Linked DNA regions of Homo sapiens: regions 2 and 3 are each linked to region 1. Evidence: promoter capture Hi-C in human tissues and cell types (Jung and others, 2019). All regions are on one chromosome and are shown on one strand. Each heading gives the region's core, a stretch centred on a gene start or on the middle of the fragment in contact. The rest is flanking DNA. Distances are from core to core; before and after follow the strand shown. Region 1 overlaps HOXB3 (homeobox B3). Region 2 holds the start of HOXB9 (homeobox B9). Region 3 holds the start of HOXB1 (homeobox B1).

Region 1 (3,067 bases), core at 239-2,738:
GTTGTTTATGGCCATGTCTTCGATAAATCATTTTTCACGGAAAATGATGTGGAAGCTGGGCTGTTTCTGCGGCCGGCCGGGAGAGAGTCGCTCTCGGAGGCACTTCCTCCCTCTCTGCTCTGCTCCCAGGAGTTGGTTATTTCAGACGATTTACAGTAATATATCAGCAGTTAATATGAAAGCTCTATAGCTGGAGGTCTTAAATTACAGCATCTGTGATTATCAATTAAAGCGAGATTTTCATAAATTTGGTAAACCAGAAATGCCTCATTGGCATATAAACCCAGTCAATGACCATGGTCTAATATAAAAATTATATTTGTGAGCCTGATAGAGCCAACATTCCTGCAGCAGCAGACAGAGCTCCATTTTTTAGCAGCTCCCCTCCAGGAGTTTGGCTTCTCCAACTCCAGCCCTGGATGAACAAACCCAACTCTGAAGGCAGAAGGAGCCTTAGAGTAAGAGAGGTGGAAGTGGAGAAAGAAATTACTGGAGTTGAAGGCAAATATTTTTGTGATCAATGGAGACCAAATCAAAGTTCTGTGCAATTGGAAAGGGATGGGAGGGGTTCCGTTACATTATTAAAGCTTAATTTATAGGACTGATGTGTCTGGGGGGTGGTCAAAGGTGGAAAAGGAATCACCCAAATTGGGGGAGACAATGGAGGCAAGCAGAGGGTGAAGGGCAGGGAGAGAAGCTGAAAGCTTTGGCTCCCCACCCTCCTGGCTAACAAAACAAGGAAATGAATTCACACCCCAGGAGCCTTCCTTTGACCTGCTGAAACAAAGAAAAGTTTCCTCAGCAGTGAGGGACTCTGTGTTTGGGGCTAAAGTGGGGAGAAGTTCTCCGAAGTTTTTCTAGAAAAGAAATGTTCTAGGAATCAGGTGGTCCCAGAAAGTTGGGAGTGTTGGAGGATGTTGGGTGTGTTCTTTTAACTAAGTCCCCATCCAAAAAGGGAGCAAACGGGGTGCAGATTGGAGAGGGAGGGGAAGAGCTGTTAACTTTCTCCTATAGTTTCATGTGGAGGTCACAGTTCCTTCCTACTAGGGGAGAGGCTGCTGGTCAAGAGCAAAGCCAGAGGTGGCTTTGGGGAATGTTCTGCACTGTGCCCCAAAGTTGTGATGGATGAGGTGCAGAGGGCCAGAGCCTTCACCAACTCCAGTCCCAGCTGTTGGCCCCTCATTCCCTGACTGGAGCCAGGCCAACTGACTTTATAGCCACGATTATCTGTGATATTTAACTCTGCCTGCTAGTGTAAACCTTTGAGCAGGGAAGTTAGAGCAACGCCGCGCCCAGGTGTTAATTATTCATGGCATCCACTACGTGGAGTGGCAGCTTAGGCCCCAGTCCCTGCAGCATCCAGGAGCTCGCTCCCACACTCTGCTCCAAGTGAACACTGAGTCTCATCCATGTTAACAAGGGATTCTCAGTGGGTAGTGGGTGAAGCCTCCCAATTCAGGAGTCTCAGTTGAAAAGGGTTTGGGGAGAAAGAGAAGGCCAGGACCCAAGGCTGGGATGGGTAGAGGCACTGTCTGACCTGGATAAAAAGAACTAGGGAAAAGTCTGGATACAGGGGCAGCTTTGACAGCACTGGAGATTGTGAGGAGGTGGGAAGGGCTGGCAGAGGCAGCAAAGAGACCTGGGGCATAGGGGCTCCAAACCTTTCAGTCTCATTCCCCACCCACTCCTTGAGTGTTGGAGAATCCCACACACATTCAGTGTGAGAGGCAAGCAGTTCTACTTCTCCCTCATCTGGAAAGTGTTGGGGGGTATGACTGTGAAGAGGGTGCGTTCTCCCTCAAACCGGTGGTCCAGAGTTAGGGCAAAGTCTTGGAGTTTTTGAGAGAGCAGGGAAGGATCACTTCTTCCATGGGGAGGAGGAGGGACATGACAGAGAAGGAAGAGGGTAGAATCATTTGTATTAGCTTCTGAATTCAGCATGCTTTGAAAGATGGGAAAGAAAAGGATCTGCTCTTTGGGCCAGCCCATAGCTAGCATGGAGAGCCAGTCCCACAGGCCCCTTCCCCCTGCGTTTGCAACTCCTCCTCCCCAACCCTTTTCCATCTCCCCTCCTGCTGCTACCTTTGCCTGTGACGTGGAAGTCTGACCAACCACCCCCACCCCCACTCCACCAGCTTTTCCTCTTTATTCTTTCAGCCCTCTTCAGGTCTTTGTCTCCTCTGGCCCAGAGGAGAGGAGGTGACACTGATACCCCCTCCCCTTCCCTTTCCCCAACACGCACAGACTCTTCCCCAGGAGACAAAGCAAGGGGACCATCCCTTGCCACCATTATCTGGTAAATCCCCCATGTGATGCCTAATGCCTTCCATCCAGGCATCTAGGCCTACCCCAAATCAGCAAGTTTGAAAGGACTTTGTTGTTTATATATACATTTGCTTCATTTAGCTATGAAGCACCCTGTCTCTTACCAGTCCTGCACCCTCCACCCCACTGATTTGCTTTTGTGTTGTTCAGGGGTTGGGATAGAATGCATCTGGTAGACAGAGCTCTAAGAAAGCTGCTGACTCTGTCTTCTCCCCTAACTCTCTGCTGGTATCCTCTCTATATAATTGCAGTGTTTATCTCTGTGCCTTTAAGGAGGCAGGCTGCTAACGCTTTAGTGACCAGAGGAATTGGATAGAAAGATGAAGAGTGAGATGAGGAAGAGAGGGACCCAGAGAGAGAACAAGCAGCAGGATCCCTTTCTGGGATGGGAAGTCAAGGCTGAGCCCAAGGAGGTGATGACAGGGAGAGTGGAAACAAAGGCCAGTCAGAGGGGAAGGGAGGCTGTCCTGGAGGAAGGAGCCCCACAATTCACAAGGGGACACACACACAGAGTTAAGTGAGAACAAGGGCAGTGGGAAGGAAACTACCCCTTTTGTCCCCTTCTCTCTAGAAGAGAATTTCTCTGGATAGAGGGTGGGTTCCCCCACAGAGGAAAGGGAAGAAGAGACTCAACCTAATGGGTGAGCCCAGAAGTGATTTCTGGAGACACTCCTAAATCCTTTGCAAGGCTCAATTCAAATTCACTGAAGACACTGAGAGACGCAGAATTGGAAAAAGACAA
Region 2 (3,067 bases), core at 371-2,870, 59 kb before region 1:
TGAGGGCAGCCTGCCTTATTAGGACTCAGAGTCAGAGAGTTGCCGAGAAATCCACCCCAATCTACCCCTGAGCCTAACCAGAGGAGAACTGGGTCTGTCCAGGGGTCACACCTCCCCAAGTGCCAGGAGAGGCGACTGCAACCAGGGCAGAAGCTGAGGAGCAGGGGCTGGGAGAGGAGCGAGGAAGCCAGTCGGTGGGCCCCGGGGGAGTCCCTGTGCAGGGCCACAGAATAGATATATATAAAAAGGGCTATTTGGAAGCTCCAATGAAGGGGTCTGCAGGGGGTAAGGCAGTGAGGGGAAGAGACTGACCATGGGCTCGCTGTCCACACTGGCCCCTATATCGGTGTTTGGAAATCTCCAGAGCAGGAGCCTCAGGTGAGAGGAGTAGTACAGGAGGGCTGAAAACTCAGCCCAGGCTCCTTCCTCTTTGGATGGAAGGGGAGATAACTTGGGACCCCTTCCCTTGCTGACTGGGGATCCTTTCCCAGGCCTCTGCTCTGGTCACACCTCAGGAAAGTGGCCTTAACCCTTTCTCCTATTTAGCTCCCTCATCAGGGCAAATTTAGGGGCCTGGGTGGTTATTCAGTGGAGAAAAGGAGAAATGGCTTCCCTCACCCCCACCCCCCACGTCACCACCACCATCTTAAATCCATCCTTCTGGCCAGAGTCAGAGAAAGGCCCAATAAATGTAAAGGCGCTCTGGTTCCTTGTATTAAACTCTTTCCTAGGCTCACGTTTCCGGGACCTGATGGATCCCTTTAACCTCAAGTAGTTTCTAATTTCAGGACAGATAGTGGATTCTTGGACACTCAGTCGTTTTATTCACCTCTCTCCTCCTCCCTCAGCTACTGAGGGGCCCAGGGAAGCTCGCAGTCATGTAAATCTCTACAAAGAGTGCAAGGAGAGCCCCCTCCAAAGCGGACAACGTCCTAAAATCCCCAACTTTTCCCCTCATCATTTTACTTCATCTCCTGTGGATTGCTGCTGCTGTTGTTGTTTAATAAACATCTTTTGTCAAGGGGAAAGAGAAGAGGAAATGAGGGCCTGCGGGGTGGAGGTGTGTGTGGGGGGACAGGAGCACCTCCTCTTCCAGTATCCTCTCGGGCCTCTATGGCTTCTCCCCGGGCTGGGGCTCTCTCCCTCCCTCCGCCCTTGCTCTCCCTCCCTCCCCGACCCGCCTGGGGAGAGGGCTCTACAGCCTGCGTCCCTCCCAAGGCAGCCCGCCGCTTCCCTCCGCCTCTCCTCCGCCCCCGCCGCCCCATGTTGAGAACTGCCCCCCTTCCTGCAGCGGGAGGGGGGGACCGGGCGGCCGGTAGCTGGGGCTGAGGTTACGTGGCCGCCGGAGCCCTGACGTGATAGCACATTGCATCAGCATAAAACAATCCATCCTCGATATGGAGTGCGGTGCGGACGGATGACAGCGAGAGCGCAGCCCCCTCGCCCGATTGATTTATGTCGGAGCTGACGCTTTATCAGGCAGTCGGAAAAACTTTGACCAATCATTTTGCAAGGAGAGCTGAGACGGGCTGCTCCACTGTACTTTGTTGGCTGAGAAGTTGAGCAGGGGGTGGGGGTGGGAGGGTGGGGGGCTGGGGGGGTCGCGTCCGAAAGCCCTCACACCGGTCCGGGTGCCACCTCTCCCTGCTTGGGCGCCGCCGCGCGAGCGCTTCCCTTCCCCCTGCAAGCGCCCGGATAATGTCTGAGAATGTCCATTTCTGGGACGCTTAGCAGCTATTATGTCGACTCGATCATAAGTCACGAGAGTGAGGACGCGCCTCCAGCCAAGTTTCCTTCTGGCCAGTACGCGAGCTCGCGGCAGCCGGGCCACGCGGAGCACCTGGAGTTCCCCTCGTGCAGCTTCCAGCCCAAAGCGCCGGTGTTCGGCGCCTCCTGGGCGCCGCTGAGCCCGCACGCGTCCGGGAGCCTGCCGTCCGTCTACCACCCTTACATCCAGCCCCAGGGCGTCCCGCCGGCCGAGAGCAGGTACCTCCGCACCTGGCTGGAGCCGGCGCCGCGCGGCGAAGCGGCCCCGGGGCAGGGCCAGGCGGCGGTGAAGGCGGAGCCGCTGCTGGGCGCGCCTGGGGAGCTGCTCAAACAGGGCACGCCCGAGTACAGTTTGGAAACTTCGGCGGGCAGGGAGGCCGTGCTGTCTAATCAAAGACCCGGCTACGGGGACAATAAAATTTGCGAAGGAAGCGAGGACAAAGAGAGGCCGGATCAAAGTAAGTTATAAAAAGTGAGGAAATACCCAGGCCGAAGGCCAGGAGGGGGGCGGGGAGGGGAAAGGCAATAAACTGCGGACAATGTGAAGGGAAACTGCGGCGGTGGCCGGAGAGCGGGCCGGGAGGAGGAGGGGAGAGGAAGGAAAGACGGAGGGAAGGGGAAAGCTGCGTGCTCTAGAAGGGGAGACTGAGGCCGCCAGAGGAGCGCTGCCCCCACTTCTCCAAGTCCTGCGGGGAACAGGGGCTCGGGGATCGACTTGCAGCTCTCTCGGCCCTCTTTCCCCCTCTCTCCCGGAGGCCCCAGCTGAAAGCCCGGCCAGAGACCGGCGACGGCCGGGAGAGGAGCTGGCGGGGGCCGGGGCCAGCGGCCAGCGAGGCCGAGAGCCGGCGAGGGCAAGGGCCGGAGCGCACTGGGCTGCCCGGGGCCGTGCGGCTGGCAGAGCTCCCCGCGCCACGCGCAGACCGTAAAAGCCGGCCAAGGGGAAGGGGGAGGGAGCTCATTAGGATTTTATTTGCGATGCAACAGCTTGGCGGAGGATTGTTCCTAGCAGATCTCGCGCTGTAGCCGCGCAGAGTCCGCAACCGGCGACAGGAGGGGCGGGGGAAGCCCAGGACGCGGTGACTGAGCCCCCTCCCCGGATGCGCCGGCCCCTCCCCGGGAGCCTTCCCTCCGGTGGCCCCTCTCCTCCTCGGCGTCCTCGCAGGGGCTACCGCTTCCTTTTCTGCGGTCCCCCGCTGCTCTCTGCGGGGCTCCCGAGCCCCAGCCCGGGCTGTCCGCCTCTTGGGGAGTCGGGGAATCGCTTCCGAATATCGGGGCATCTCGAAGGGACCCCGGGGAGAGG
Region 3 (3,067 bases), core at 242-2,741, 36 kb after region 1:
GGCCTCCGGCCAGGCAGACACCCTGACAGGTTACAAATGAGCGTGGGTGTTGGATTGCCCCAAGCTCTTGCCCTCAAGTTGTCCGGAGGAGGAGAGTCAATGGGCTCTACCTAAGGGCTTCTCTTCTAGTCCCATCTGGGTTTGGAGTCTGAGAGAGTGAAGAAGACACATCCTGTGTCCCTCCGCAACAGCCACACAGAACAAAAAGGGGCGAGACTCCACTCCTCACTCTGGAGTCTTAGAATTCAGAGCCTCAGGGCCTCCACCCCGATTCTCCCACTCTCTGACCAAACTCCCTTTATCAATCCTAGAAAAATTACTGAAATCTGGAGGAATCTTTAAGATTTAACTGGTATTAAATTTATGCATTTGAGGTTTGGAAATTTTTTTTTTTTGGAAGGAGATGGAGGGTGGTGAAGGAGAGACAGGTAGGAGGGAACCAGGAGAATGCAGGTCTCCACTAGTTTTAAACACTTCAAGAAGAGAATAAAAAATTCCCCTCCTCTTCACCCCGCTGTAAACATCACCTGGCTGTGCTCATTGTGGCTCTCTAGAGAGATATAGGGAGTTATTTAAGTCTGAGTGAGTGAGCCAGCTACAGCTATGGATGGCTAGAGAGAGGATAAATACATCTAGAGAGATGAGAGGTAGGGAACGAATATAAATATGGAGAAAGATGGACGAACAGAGAGATGGATTGAGACAGAGAGAATATAAAGAGAGGCTGAGGGAGAGAAATGGATGTGTGAATGAGGAGAGAACATTTATGCAAAGAGAGAGAGAGGGAAGATGGGGCATTTCTCATCCTTTTCTCCACATTTCTGTAGTCCTGCCTTGCTCCCTGAAATGCCAATTTCCCACCCCTGGCTTCATGAATTCTTCCTCTAGATTCTAGATCCTGCCCCACACCCTTAGGTGTTTTTGCACCACCTTCCCCCACCTCCCCACCACACAGTCATCCATTTGGCCCAAGATAACATACCTCACCCGGCTGTCCTAGCCCACCACCCTAAGACAAATTGGAAGAAAGGAACATGGTTTGGGAGTTCTGGGCAAAGTATGGAAGCTGGATTCCCCACCTCCAGGTCCACAGACTTAGGGGGAAGGTTTCTCTGAGGGGTGGGAAGAGTGAGGGGCAGCTGGCTTGAATTTGTCCAAATCTAATAACCCAGGAGCCTATTGAAGGCCTTGGGGGTTGGGAGGGAAGGAAAGTCTTGAATATTCTCCTAACTTTTTCCCCCTCTCCCTCTGGTCCCTTCTTTCCAAAAGTCTTTGAAGAAAGATGTTTTTGACGCTTCCATGTCGCTCTCAGATGGATGGGCTGCGGGTGATTGAAGTGTCTTTGTCATGCTAATGCTTGGGGGGTGATGGATGGGCGCTGGGGCTGCCAAACTCTGGCCCGCTTAGCCCATTGGCCTGGGAGAGATCACATGTGCCCCCTCACCCCCACTCCCTACCCCCTTCCTAGGGAAGCGCTTGCCCAGGCGAGCGGGTCAGGCCATGGATTCGAGCCCCAGCGCTGTGACATACTGCCGAAAGGTTGTAGGGCAAGAGGGTGTCTCCCCCAAACGGGCCGACCCTCCTGCGGCCTTGACGCATGGACTATAATAGGATGAACTCCTTCTTAGAGTACCCACTCTGTAACCGGGGACCCAGCGCCTACAGCGCCCACAGCGCCCCAACCTCCTTTCCCCCAAGCTCGGCTCAGGCGGTTGACAGCTATGCAAGCGAGGGCCGCTACGGTGGGGGGCTGTCCAGCCCTGCGTTTCAGCAGAACTCCGGCTATCCCGCCCAGCAGCCGCCTTCGACCCTGGGGGTGCCCTTCCCCAGCTCCGCGCCCTCGGGGTATGCTCCTGCCGCCTGCAGCCCCAGCTACGGGCCTTCTCAGTACTACCCTCTGGGTCAATCAGAAGGAGACGGAGGCTATTTTCATCCCTCGAGCTACGGGGCCCAGCTAGGGGGCTTGTCCGATGGCTACGGAGCAGGTGGAGCCGGTCCGGGGCCATATCCTCCGCAGCATCCCCCTTATGGGAACGAGCAGACCGCGAGCTTTGCACCGGCCTATGCTGATCTCCTCTCCGAGGACAAGGAAACACCCTGCCCTTCAGAACCTAACACCCCCACGGCCCGGACCTTCGACTGGATGAAGGTTAAGAGAAACCCACCCAAGACAGGTAGGGCTCAGATGTGGCCACCCCTTCTCCGGGGCCCAAAGCATCTCTGCTTCCCCTGCAGTGACATGTCCTGGGTCTGGGCTGGGTTCTTCTCTTTCAGCGGCTCTGGTAGACACAGGTAAGAGCACAACCTACGTCTCAGGTCAGGTGAGGTCTCCCCACCCAGTATGTAACCGGTCACCCCAGGAGTAAGTTTCCATACACACCCCACTTCCTGATCTGTGCACCCAGCACAGACCCAGGACCTGGTGTGCATGGGGGATGGAAGTATGGGGAAGGCTGCTCCAGACTTGGTGATCACCATGGGGGTACCTGGTGGTCCCTGGGAACTTTGACAACTGTACTTGGGCAGAATGGCAAATGGAGGTCCAGAGCCAGCCCCGGGAGGAGGGAAGCGGAAGGAGAAAGAGGTGAGAGAATTGACCTGGCCTTTCTCCCTGCCCCGCCCCTAGCGAAGGTGTCAGAGCCAGGCCTGGGCTCGCCCAGTGGCCTCCGCACCAACTTCACCACAAGGCAGCTGACAGAACTGGAAAAGGAGTTCCATTTCAACAAGTACCTGAGCCGGGCCCGGAGGGTGGAGATTGCCGCCACCCTGGAGCTCAATGAAACACAGGTCAAGATTTGGTTCCAGAACCGACGAATGAAGCAGAAGAAGCGCGAGCGAGAGGAAGGTCGGGTCCCCCCAGCCCCACCAGGCTGCCCCAAGGAGGCAGCTGGAGATGCCTCAGACCAGTCGACATGCACCTCCCCGGAAGCCTCACCCAGCTCTGTCACCTCCTGAACTGAACCTAGCCACCAATGGGGCTTCCAGGCACTGGAGCGCCCCAGTCCAGCCCTATCCCAGGCTCTCCCCAACCCCAGGCCTGGGCTTCACTGGCCTGGGGATCCTCTCT

The links. Contacts are between HindIII fragments. The study calls those that stand out against the background at their distance.
Region 2: a contact is called between the fragment with the promoter of HOXB9 here and a fragment that was not itself captured in region 1, in 3 of the 25 tissues and cell types used here (H1 embryonic stem cells, mesendoderm cells and small bowel).
Region 3: a contact is called between the fragment with the promoter of HOXB1 here and a fragment that was not itself captured in region 1, in 6 of the 25 tissues and cell types used here (H1 embryonic stem cells, liver, mesendoderm cells and 3 more).

The regions. Positions count from the first base shown.
Region 1 is chr17:48,565,537-48,568,603 of GRCh38, reverse strand. The region is part of intron 2 of HOXB3 (homeobox B3); the gene reads left to right. Among named protein-coding and RNA genes, the nearest start is that of HOXB-AS2, 11 kb to the right of the region's middle. The HindIII fragment of the contact is 3,873 bases long and covers 1-3,067 here.
Region 2 is chr17:48,624,911-48,627,977 of GRCh38, reverse strand. HOXB9 (homeobox B9) reads left to right here and starts at 1,620. Exons shown (of 2, transcript NM_024017.5): 1 at 1,620-2,225. The coding sequence starts at 1,709. RefSeq lists a silencer at 524-679 and an enhancer at 2,090-2,767. The HindIII fragment of the contact is 6,922 bases long and covers 1-3,067 here.
Region 3 is chr17:48,529,435-48,532,501 of GRCh38, reverse strand. HOXB1 (homeobox B1) reads left to right here and starts at 1,491. Exons shown (of 2, transcript NM_002144.4): 1 at 1,491-2,174; 2 at 2,627-3,067. The coding sequence starts at 1,598. The coding sequence ends at 2,955. RefSeq lists an enhancer at 1,021-1,601. The HindIII fragment of the contact is 7,824 bases long and covers 1-3,067 here.